Linked DNA regions of Homo sapiens: regions 1 and 2 are each linked to region 3. The links are contacts of gene promoters, found by promoter capture Hi-C in human tissues and cell types (Jung and others, 2019). All regions are on one chromosome and are shown on one strand. Each heading gives the region's core, a stretch centred on a gene start or on the middle of the fragment in contact. The rest is flanking DNA. Distances are from core to core; before and after follow the strand shown. Region 1 has its middle 72 kb from the start of GAP43. Region 2 has its middle 110 kb from the start of GAP43. Region 3 holds the start of GAP43 (growth associated protein 43).

What was found. Contacts are between HindIII fragments. The study calls those that stand out against the background at their distance.
Region 1: a fragment that was not itself captured here is called in contact with the fragment with the promoter of GAP43 in region 3 in 3 of the 25 tissues and cell types used here (heart left ventricle, hippocampus and spleen).
Region 2: a contact is called between a fragment that was not itself captured here and the fragment with the promoter of GAP43 in region 3, in 3 of the 25 tissues and cell types used here (dorsolateral prefrontal cortex, heart left ventricle and thymus).

What each region holds. Positions count from the first base shown.
Region 1 is chr3:115,549,812-115,553,649 of GRCh38, forward strand. No RefSeq gene overlaps it. Among named protein-coding and RNA genes, the nearest start is that of GAP43, 72 kb to the right of the region's middle. The HindIII fragment of the contact is 6,816 bases long and covers 1-3,838 here.
Region 2 is chr3:115,513,113-115,516,904 of GRCh38, forward strand. No RefSeq gene overlaps it. Among named protein-coding and RNA genes, the nearest start is that of GAP43, 110 kb to the right of the region's middle. The HindIII fragment of the contact is 4,102 bases long and covers 1-3,310 here.
Region 3 is chr3:115,620,916-115,625,177 of GRCh38, forward strand. It overlaps GAP43 (growth associated protein 43), which reads left to right and starts at 2,595. Exons shown (of 3, transcript NM_002045.4): 1 at 2,595-2,804. The coding sequence starts at 2,775. The HindIII fragment of the contact is 4,830 bases long and covers 1-4,256 here.

The DNA.
Region 1 (3,838 bases), core at 737-3,236, 72 kb before region 3:
CTGTTTTTTATTGACAAATTAGGAGTTTGAGCTTTTTTGTTATTATATTTTCACACTACAATGACTGTCTCTGTGCATAAATGTCACCCACATTTTACATATATGCCTGTAAGTAGAATAGCTGAGTAAGGAATACAAATTTTAGATTAATGTATGTTCCTTTCTTACATATATATAATATATAGTATTGTATACACATTATATATATAAAGAGAGAGAAAAAATTTTTTTTCAGTTACAAAAGACAGAAAACCAATTAAAACTGAGGGGATGAGGTAGGAGAAAGTTTTTGGTCCATATAACTCAAATGCCCAAGGATAAGGCCTGACTTTAGGTACGGTTTGACCCAAGGGTTTAAACAATGTTAATACCAATAATAGCGAACATTTCTTGAACAGTTTCTACATGTCAGGGACTGTTACATACTTTATATAACTAACTCATTTAACTTTCACAACATTCTATGAAGAAAATACAACTATGATTCCCATTTTACAGCTTTCTCTTGATTTCCTGTTTCTGCTCTCCTCTTTATGGCCTCATTCCCAGGCAGGTTCTCTCTCTAGCTGCTCCAGATTCATTCCCTCAGACCAAAGTCCACAAAATGACTCTTGCCTCTTTTCCAGTTGCTCAGGCAAAAGTTCCACTATTAACTCTGGTCCTGCCTCCTGGATTGGCCTTGACCCCATTCTTGGCCCCATTGCTAGGGGAACATTAGACCCGGATATGTCATTCCTGAGCTAAACTGCTACCCACCCCTGGAGCTGGGAATGGAGTTAGCTGCCTCAAAGTACATGACCTCAGAGTAAAGGATGGAATAATTTCCCCAAAGATAAACCAAGTACTGTTTTCAAAAGCAGAGTAAATGGAAAGCAGATGGCCACTTCCACTACAGCAACAAATTCCACTACAATGAGGACTCAGAAATTTTTGGTTGCATTTAGAGAAGAGAACAGTGCATCAAGCTACTTGGACGAAAAATATCTTTCTGGTTCAAGTTTCTGAGGATGAGCAATTATTACATTTTCAGATTCACAATGCAGAGGAATAGTTTTAAATAGTCTGAAAGAACTATTTAGATGCCAGCCACACCTTAAATAAATGTGCTCATTCTACATGCAAGTCTAAATATACATGTAAATGAAGAAATTTGAAGAAACCCTAGTGGATTCACTCTTTCCAGCTTAAAGCACACTCCATTATTTTCCTAAACATATGGATGTGGTCCAAGAAAATATCTAGATAGAAGTCATTTTTCCCAACAATATGACAAAATATATGATTTCTTTGCTGCTTCGTCAGTGATTGGAGTGTGATATAGACTGTAACTTTCTACAGTTAGAAAATCAGCCATGAGAACAGTGGCTTCAGTGTCTGATTACATTCACCAAGTATGTCTGTTTATTAATCTTGATGTTGTTTGCTATGTAATGGAGGTAATGCAGATAGGGAAAAAAAAATGTCTGAGCTGTGCATGGATTGCTATGGAAACAGCAGCTGACCAATCAATGGAGAGTAGTCAGAACATATGCCTCCTCTCCTCTGCAGTCCTGATGAATTGATGTCCTGCTATTGCAATCCTTTTGGCTCTGTTGTCACTTGTAGCAATAGTTTTTTGACATCTAAATATATGACGCACACCTGTTATTTAAAAATCAGAGGTATAAATGATTAGTCTTAAAATATTCAATCTCTCTGTACAAACACGCTCACAGTCAGTTATTTCTCCCTCCAAAGTATTTTCTAAATTTCTTGTGCATCCATCCCTCCTAATCCTTTTACTTGCCATTTCCTCACACCATCCTGCTCACTTGCCTTCCCTCCCTTTTGCTATCCCAAACCTCCTTAGTCTATTAGCAGGTAGCATTTTCTTCAACATGGAGAAATATAAATCAACATGAGTCAATTTAAAACTTTGTCCAATTTTAGAGTTAATTTTTTTTAAAGTAGTTGAAAAACATATTCAGAACTACAAGAGGGTTCAACCACCAGACACATGAGAAAGACCATTTCACATTTCTCTGTTAAGTCCAGGAAATATAAACAGATCTGTTTCTCAGGAAAGCTCAAGAAAAATGTGAAGAAAGAAAATAGAGCCATTAGAAGCATAGTCTAAGTTTAAAAATGAATAAATTACATTTGACAATAATCTGCCAATTGTGAGACTAGTCACATTGATTAGAAAAGGTTGTTGTAGATTTCTCTGGGGTAGTGAACCCTTGATCTACATAAAACTTGTGTCTCTTTTGGCCTTAAATAATTGGGAGAGTGGAGAGAGGGGGAGATAATGTTATCTACAATAGCTTCAGTGAGCACGAAGGGGTGTGTGTCATGATGATAAAGACAAAATAGGGCCCTCTGGTCTTTGCTATTGTCGTTGCATAAAAAGATTTAAAGGACTGACTTGCATTGAGCAGATTGAACAATAAATAATGGCTGCTGACATTTAAACCTATCTCCAGATCACACAGTAAATCTGTGGGGATGATTGCGCACAAGTCCTAGAATCATTTAATATTCAGCTGATTCACTGGTAGAACAATGGGCTGATTTGATGATATAGTGATGTTCTTATTATCTGGGCTCACTGAAGAAATAAGCTTTCTTAAAAACAATTCTTTTTGTGTATACACTGAGGCTTTAAAGAAAAGGCCAATATTCATCTCCATGCCTTTTTCGGGAATTATTCTGGGAGCTTGGTATCATCAGTAAAGAATGAAAGATTTCCTGACTTCATGGAGTGTACATTCTAGCAGAGGAAGCAAGCAATAGAAATAAATGGATTAAACAAATTCATTTGATAGTATGCTGGAAAGTAAATGTTCTTGTTAAGGTGGCCAGTAGCATCTTAATTACTAACACCTTACCTTTATTGGTTTCCTCCTAGCATTTGGTATTGTTGAATCTATTCTTATTTTATCTTTCATCTCATAGATGGGCAAATGTTTTGGGAGTACTTACTAAACTCCAGGCATTATGCTAGGTGCTGGAGATCCAGCAGAGCATGTGGCATGTTGTAGCCACCCCCTTATCGTCTATCGGTCCTCTCTCTTTTCTCAAGCCACTGATGGCCTCCTCTCCCTCTTTAGCAAGCCCCTTCTTTTCTGTCTGCTCCATAATTATTAGGATTTTCCTTCTATATTTTGTCCACACTCCTCTTAGATCCACATGCTTTATTTGTGATCTCACTGACTTTCTGAGCCTCTAACTGCCATTAATGCACTGATGACTCTATCGCTCCATCATATCACAATAATCCATTCATTCATTATTTCTTTTATAAATATATATGAGCATTTACTCTTTTCTAACCACTACCCTAGGGAATTCAAGAATACATAAAAAGGACATGATCTTTGCCCTCATGGAGATTACAGTCTGGTGGAGGAGACAGACAAAAAACAACCGAACAAGAAAATGAATGAAAACAATTATACATTTTAACAATTTTCATGCATGAAACAAACAAGGGGAGAAGAATAAGAATATACAAAATCTACTATCAGATAGGATGGTCAGGACGGACTCTGTGGAAGGAACATTTGGGCATAAATTAAATGATAAACATAAAACAGCTTTGTGAGAGTCTTTAGAGTTAAGACCATTCTAAGTGAAGGGGATAGCATAAACTTATGCTAAGGTAGTGAGGTGGGAAAATGTTGCTGACCTTTGTGACTGGATGAAAATGAACTTGGGAGAGAGTACTGTGAGATTAGTTTGGAGAAAAACAATAGTGAGATGATGCAGGATCTTGAAGTCCTGAAAAATAATTTGGATTCCCTTCTAGATAGATTTGACAGGAAATGAATTATTCTAAGCAAAGGATTGATGCAATGTA
Region 2 (3,792 bases), core at 10-2,509, 110 kb before region 3:
TCTATCTTTCACTCTCGACCCTTTCCCCTGCAGCATAACTAAATAGAAGCTCTGGAAAGACGGATTCGAAAAGTTCTGGGGTCTGGATTAACTGCTGTTTATTGGCTGACACCCTAGCAAGAGGCTGGGGGAGGAGTAGGAGGAGGTTGGGCAGAATGTATGCTATGATTGAATTGCACGAGGGTTCAGATGACGTCAGCTTGAATAAAGGTCTGACCTAGTGAATGTTAAATGTGGCTGAGTGACTGAATCCTTGGAAGGGATCGATGGCAGAAACCTCCATGAAAGGACCATGCCACTTCTTTAAAATATTAAGCATGTGATTCTGCTGATCTCCCCTGCAACTCCCAGAGCGCTGGTGGAATCTTAGCTTTCTGCTATAATCACTTGAACATTACTTACTGCCCTAGATAACTGCGGGTCACGTGGAGTTTGCACCAAAAAAGGAAGTCTTTGAAAAAAAGAAAAAGCCATTAATCAAAGTGCCTGCTAATCTTACAAAGTGAAAGCAATTCAATTTAATAAACACTTTCAGAGGACTACTTCGAGCCAAGTGTATGCAAAATGAGTGAGATGTTCTTTGCCTTCAAGGTGCATACATTCTGGCTGGGGAGGCGGATATGTTCACAAATGACTCATGGTGCCTGGCAGCAGGTAATATATACCATGGGAACTCCAAGGAAGGTGAAATTAATTAGATACAAGGAGGAGGGGAAAGCAGTTTATATTAGTTGCCTCTGAGGTCTAGACTTTTATAATAGATGCAGAGGAGAGAAGCGCAGGGAAAAGTTCTGCAGGGGTAGAATAGAAAAAGTTTAACCCAAATGCCTATTCCATATAAAATTCCAGTTCTGTAAAATTGTCAAGTGACAGAGCAAGCTAATTTTCCTATTTTTTCCCTCTCTGATGACGTATTGCTATTGCTGCAACTTATAGGAAACTCTGGCTTGGCTTCTATTCCATTTTTACCACTTGCCTAACCCATTTTATTTTGATATTAGAGGTTCAAGCTTTAATGGTTTCATTTAAAAATAAACCCAGAAGGTAGAATTGTGAGAAAGAACGCTTTAAAATGTATTTGGGTTTAGGCTGAGTGAGAACCATAGGCATATGAAGGGCATTGAGATTATTTTGTAGTTGAGACAGGGCTGAAATAAAGAAGGTATTTGTGCCATTTGGGGCTCATTTTCAGAGTCATGGCACATAGGAATTAAGAGATGATTGGCAGCTCCATCACAAATGTTGGAGAAATTTTTGAAATATGTAACACTTATGGTCTGAACTTAGTGCGTGTTGCTCGGTCATGAACTATCAAGTTTTCATTAGAAAATTAGGAGATATTCAGGAATACATTAAAGGACACAGAAGCCAAAGGCTAAGTCTTGGCCTTTGGATGGAAGATATCAGGCAGAAATGAAATTAAAGGAGGGCAATTATTTCTAGAAAGGACAGGAAAAAGAAGCCACATGTGCTCAAACTAGTCATAGTTTCTGTGTCATTGAGATATTAGTTACGAAGGGCTTGTTTTCAAGGCCCTACTCTCAGTTGGCTGAGGAATATAGGTATAATAAAAAACATCTTCCCAGAGTTTTGGCAATGAAGCAGAATATTAGCAATTTTTAATGAAAAAGGGCAGAAAGCCAAGAGTCAAATTATTTTATTTTTATTGTTTCATTCTTCTCACATGGTTCACTGCAGAATCTTTGGACTCCTAATTTACTTTCTTTAATGCCATTCTGCCAAGTTTCTGGATAACTGAATATAATCCTCTAGCTTCTTTACTTCAAATAAACACCCATAGACATGTGGACACCTCAGTCATCTGAACACAGTCAAATGTATTTGCATGGTACATTTTTGTAATGATAGTCAATATGGCATGGCAATTCCTAGAAATGAGTTTAGTAATTTGAGGAGTGACCACTTGACATCACTAATAGCTTAAAGAAGAGACAGAAGGGATAAAATAAACACATAAAAAAGAAATTGAGTCATAAATAGTAGAAAAGATGGAGGGGGAAAAACAAGTAGTGAAACAAGACATTAAGGGGAAAAAAAGATATAGAACAGGACGTCTTAAGCCCTTGAAGAGGTTAGGATCCTTGTATTAGTCCATTCTCACACAGCTGTAAAGAAATACCTGAGACTGGGTAATTTATAAGGAAAAGAAGTTTAATTGGTTCATGGTTCCACAGGCTGTACAGGAGGTATAGCAGCTTCTGTTTCTGGATAGGCCTCAGGAAGCTTACAATCATGACTTAAGGCAAAGGGAGAGTGAGGCACTTCACCCAACCAGAGCAGAAGGAAGCAAGAGAGGTGGGGCAGGTGCCACACATTTTTAAACAACCAGATCTCAGGAGAACTCTCTCACTATGGCAACACGTACCAAGGCAGAAATCTGCTCCCATGAGCCAATTATCTCCCACCAGGCTCTACCTCTGACATTGGGGATTACAGCTCCACATTTGTAATTTCCTAGAGACTTGTTGATAGTTGTGACCCAAATGCTGATAGTGATATGGACAATGAAGTACAGGCTGAGGAGGTCTCATATGGAAATGAGGAACTTATTGGGAACTGGAGTAGAGATCACTTTTGCTATGCTTTAGCAAAGAGCCTGGCTGCATTGTGCCCCTACTCTAGGGATCTGTGAAACTTTGCCCTTGAGAGTGATGATTTAGGGTATGTGGCAGAAGAAATTCTAAGCAGCAGAGTGTTCAAGATATGACATGGCTAATAGCCTATGCTCATATGTGTGAGCTAAGAAATGATCTAAAGTTGGAACTTAGGGTGAGATTTGGGTGGGGACACAGATCTGAATTATATCATTCTGCCCCAGGCCCCTCCCAAATCTCATGTCCTTCTCACAGTGCAAAATCCAATCATGCCTTCCCAACAGTCTCCCAAAATCTTAACTCTTTCCAGTGTTAAGTCAAAAGTCCACAGCTCAGAGTCTCATCTGAGACAAGGCTAGGCACTTCCGCCTATGAGCATGTAAAATCAAAAACAAGTTAGTTACTCCTAAGATAAAATGTGGTTGTAGGCATTGGGTGAATACTCCCACTCCAAAAGGGAGCCAGAAGAAGGGGACTACAGGCCCCATGCAAGTCTGAAACCCAGCAGGGCAGTCATTAAACTTTAAAGCTCCAAAATAATGTTCCTTGACTCCATATCCCAAATCCAGCACACACTGGTATAAGGGGTGGGCTCCCAAGGCCTTGGACAGCTCCACCCCTGTGGCTTTACAGGGATCAGCCCCTGCAGTTGCTCTCATGGGCTGTTGTTGAGTGCGTGCAGCTTTTCTAAGCTCAGGGTGCAAGCTGCTGGTGGATTTACCATTCTGGGTCTGGGGTCTTACAGTTCCAGTAGTGGGGACTCTGTGTGGGGGCTCCAACTCCCACATTTTCCCTCTGTATTGACCTAGCAGAGGTTCTCTGTGAGGACTCTGCCACTGCAGCAGGTTTCTGCCTGGACATCCAGACTTTTCCATACATCCTCTGAAATATAGGTGGAGGCTCCAAAGCCTCAACTCTTGCATTCTGAGCACCTGCAGGCTTAACACCACGTGGAAGCCACCAAGGCTTATGGCTTGCACCCTCTGAAGCAGCAGCTTGAGCTATACCTGGGCCCCTTTTAGCCATGGCTGGAGCTGGAGTGGCTAGGATTCAGGGAGCAGTATCCTGAGGCTTTCTAGGCCAACAGGGCCCTGGGCCTGGCCTATGAAACCATTCTTCCTTCCCAGGCCTCTGAGCATGTTATAGGAGGGGCTGCTGTGAAGGTCTCCGAAATGTC
Region 3 (4,262 bases), core at 1,345-3,844:
GGGCTCTCTATTGCATGAAGATATCAGCTTATTCTCCATGGCTCTTGAAGTAAGAGTTGGGCCTAAAAGATGGATCTTGCTGATTTCATTTCAACATTGAATGCTGATTTCATTTCAACATTAAAACTTCCACTATGTAGTTTAATCTCTTAAGGACTAGAAGTAATGAAGAGTAGAGGCCTATTAAGTGGTGATTGATGTAGCCTAGTTGTTAAGAGACATAGAGTCCTAGCTTTACTACTTCTTAGTTCTGTGACTTAGTCAAGGCACTTAACTTCCCTTAGCTTTAGCATCCCCATCAAAATGGGATTACTACTTGTGCCTACCTCATTTTGAGTATTAGATAAAATAATGCATGTAAACTGATGAGGAAGCTGATTCTGAGCTGGGTGGTTTCACATATTTAGTCACAAAGTTCATCAATGCTTGTGCCCAGTTTTAAGCCCTAGCTTGTTTAACTTCATTATGCCACTTTGTTTCCAAGGTTCCTTCCCATATATAAAGGGGGAAAAATATAAATGGGATGGCTGAGGTGAGTACATCGAAAGGGAAAGGAATTAGTCCCACTCTTTAAGTTTGGCCACATAGTTAATGAAATGGTCTTATCAATGGAGTTATCCTGTTTAAACACCAAAAGGTGCAATTTCTTCTCCATCATCCCCAATCCCCACATTCTCTGCCTCCTCCCTTCATTGCTCTTTAGCCACTAGCAGGCTAGGTAGGGTGTTCCTAATCTGCAACCGGAATGTTTCTGGTAGGAGCCATTTCTCACCCACTCTTTGTCCTCTTTTATCACTTAAAATCACGGAAGGCTGTTCTGAAAGCGGCTGGGCTCCTTGTAACATTAAAAAATTATTAAACTCAGAAACTAATTCTGTTTTTTAATCATAAATATGAAAACTAGGAAGCAAACTGAGAAGAATGAAAGACCAAATCAGCGGATCTGAAGCAGGCCACTCTCAGGAAGACTCCTGAGGAATAATTAAGGCTAATTTTAAATATCACCTCCTGGGTATCATCATCACCATCGTTCCCAGGTACCTGTCTGAGATAGTCCATTTTGAAATAGATATACCTTAAATTATGTTAAAATGTACTAAGCACTTATTGAGCTCAGTGATCCTGAAATATGCCTAACAATAAGCTGCCTAGTTGCCACTTATTAGCTAGGTTTATGTCTAGGAGGTCTAGGAGGGACTATGAAGAATATGAGCTGTTTAATTAGGGGTACTTGTCATCACTAATGAACAACAAGAAATAGTTTGAAAACTTCTTTGAGATATTCACTTGCAAATGTCACCCGAATTTCAGAAAAGTACAGTCTCTGGAGTAAAGCTATTATACACTCAGAGAGACTGTTGTGCTTTGCATGCGTTATATCATTTAGTCCTCAAAACATGTTGTCAAGATTGGCATTATTATCTCCATTTTAAAGATGAGAAAATTAGGTGCAAAGAGCTTCAGTAACACACTCAAACTCATTCAACAATAAATAACTAAAAATTGTGCTATACACACTTTAAGAGTCACATGTTCCTCCCCCAAAATTATGAAAGGCCATAGAAGGAATTCAAGAAGTAGGCTTCATGACTTATCGTTTCTTCTCATCTCAGATGAATTCACTTTAATCTCTCATGCCCAAATTGTAAAATATCATTTTGATCACCGTCAATATTACACAGACCTGTTTGAATGTGCTCAGCTTTTTCAGTAAAATTAGAAGAAACCACAATTTACAAACAGGTATATGTGCATTAAGGAAAAAACAAAAAACTACCATGTGATTTTAGATATGGATGCCAATTCTTAAACATTGTTTATTATTTCTGAGCTCAAGTGCTTAGAATGTTTAAAATGCAATATATTTATGTGGATTTTTTTCCAGGATATTGGAACATATATAAAATATGCTTGTGCATATCTAAGCTTTGTATTTATTTCAGGTTATATGTATACTGAGAAGAATATATAAACAGTGTATGATATTTACATGTTATTTCATTTTTTGAGGGAAATTAACCTCCACAATTATTAACTATGCATAAAATGTAATGGCAGATATGACTTATATTGTATAGGACTGACTACAATTCCTCTTTAGAAATAGCTGTTCTTTGCTTTTATAATACTAGGAAAAGAGGAAAAGAGTTCTTAAAGAAATACAAGGATTCCTCAAGCCCCTCTTCCCTAAAACATGCTCTATCATATCTCCTGGATTGACTGGAATATCCTTCTCTGCCCCCACCCCATCACCCTCTCAATGCAGTGGAAAAGTCGGTGGGTAATTGGGTCCAGATTGGAGGTGTTTAAATATTCATGAGGCTGGCAGGGGACTGGGAGGGGGCGACTGTCTAGAATGGGGGTAGGGGCTGGGGGAAGTGATTAGTCACTGAAGGCTAGAGAACAATTCCGAGAAAGAGACGGAGAGAGAGGGAAGAAAAAGACAGATAGATAGATATTGGGGGGAAGGAGAAAAAAGGAGAAGAGAGGGAAGAGAGGACAGCGGAGAGAGAGCACCAGAGAGAGAGGGAGAGAGAGAGAGAGCGCTAGAGAGAGGGAGCGAGCATGTGCGATGAGCAATAGCTGTGGACCTTACAGTTGCTGCTAACTGCCCTGGTGTGTGTGAGGGAGAGAGAGGGAGGGAGGGAGAGAGAGCGCGCTAGCGCGAGAGAGCGAGTGAGCAAGCGAGCAGAAAAGAGGTGGAGAGGGGGGGAATAAGAAAGAGAGAGAAGGAAAGGAGAGAAGGCAGGAAGAAGGCAAGGGACGAGACAACCATGCTGTGCTGTATGAGAAGAACCAAACAGGTAGAGCTAAAGATTTTTTACTTCTTGCTGTTGTGAAATAACCCGAGTACAGTATTTCCCCGTAAAGGCAAACAATTTTTTTACTGCTTCTGCTCTGGCCGTGGTGCTCGCGCTTCCTTAGCATATGGTAACTGATGGTTGCATCCCAGCTTTTATTCTTTTCTGTCTTTCATGCTCTGGTTTTGGAATGCTGCTACTAATTAGGGTGAGGGTAGAAAAAACATGCCTGTTTGGCTAGAAATAATTTTTTTTTTTCTTATTAGTGAATGCTCAGCATTTGAGGTCTCTGGTCTTGAGGGTGTGGACGTAGAAAGGGGTGTGGGGGAGATGATGTGGGCTCTACCTACAAGATGGGGAGGCATTTCTTTATATTATTTGCAAAAAAGCAGGGTTGAGGAAATAATATTCAGAACTGAGTATTGCCTCTCTGTCATACAATTTTCTCACATGTGCTGCGGAAGATGCCTTATTTCGTGCATGCATGAGCTTCGAAGGGGCGCAGGTATTTATGGAAAAACGTGCAGGTCTTATTTATTTAGTATTTATTTTTCAATGAATGAATGAAACTGTGATTTGATAGATTTTTTTTTTTTTTAAGAGAAGCTAAGACAACTGGGGCTGGGGGAGAAATTGGCCATGCAGAAGGAGAAAATCCCCTTCCTAAGATCAGCAGCCGATTGTGCACCAGCTGGTCGGAGGAGAGGGTGGACCACGCCCCTAGGAGCTCCGATGGGATGGGAAAGACAGCCGGGTATTACCTGTTGGAAACCAGGTCTTTTCTCTTATCCCCTTCCCTTGCTTCTTTCCTGGGATTGTCAGTGACCAGAGACAGGCTAACATCCTGGATAATAAGTATGGTGACTCATTTTCATCAGGAAGAGGGACACATCCAAGATTAGCAAGAATCAGAGCCCCTCCTTCCCTCCCCCACTGCCCAGGTTTTACAGCCATTTCCAATTGCTCGCTTATTTCTTGAAAGACATTTTAGAAACTTGATTGGGGTGAGAGTGGGAAGGAATGACGAGTGTGGTATTCCGCAGCAACCGACCATGCCATGGCAGTCTCCAAAAGAAGCTTTCAAACATTTGTTGGAATGCATTTGAGTGATTTTGGCAAAGGTTAAAGAGAAAAATGGGTGTGGGATACGGGTGAGTGTGTGCGTATGCTTGACTGTGGTGGGGGTGGGGGTGTGGTGGGGGCAATCTTGGTCAAAGAAGCCCTTCGCAGACTGATTGCCTTAGGGGTGGGGTGCAAGAGATGGAATTTGGGTATAATTTCCAGTGCAGGTATTGGAAATTGGGCAATTTGTAATACACTCCCTGAATCCGAAGGGGGTGGAAGAGAGTGGAGAAGAAACAGCCTGCCAGCTTAGCACATTTAGCCAGCGCCCTGGAAGGAAGGGTGGGGAGTGAGGATGAAGGAGAAGGAGCAGGAAGAGGATGGGAGACTGAAGCAGAA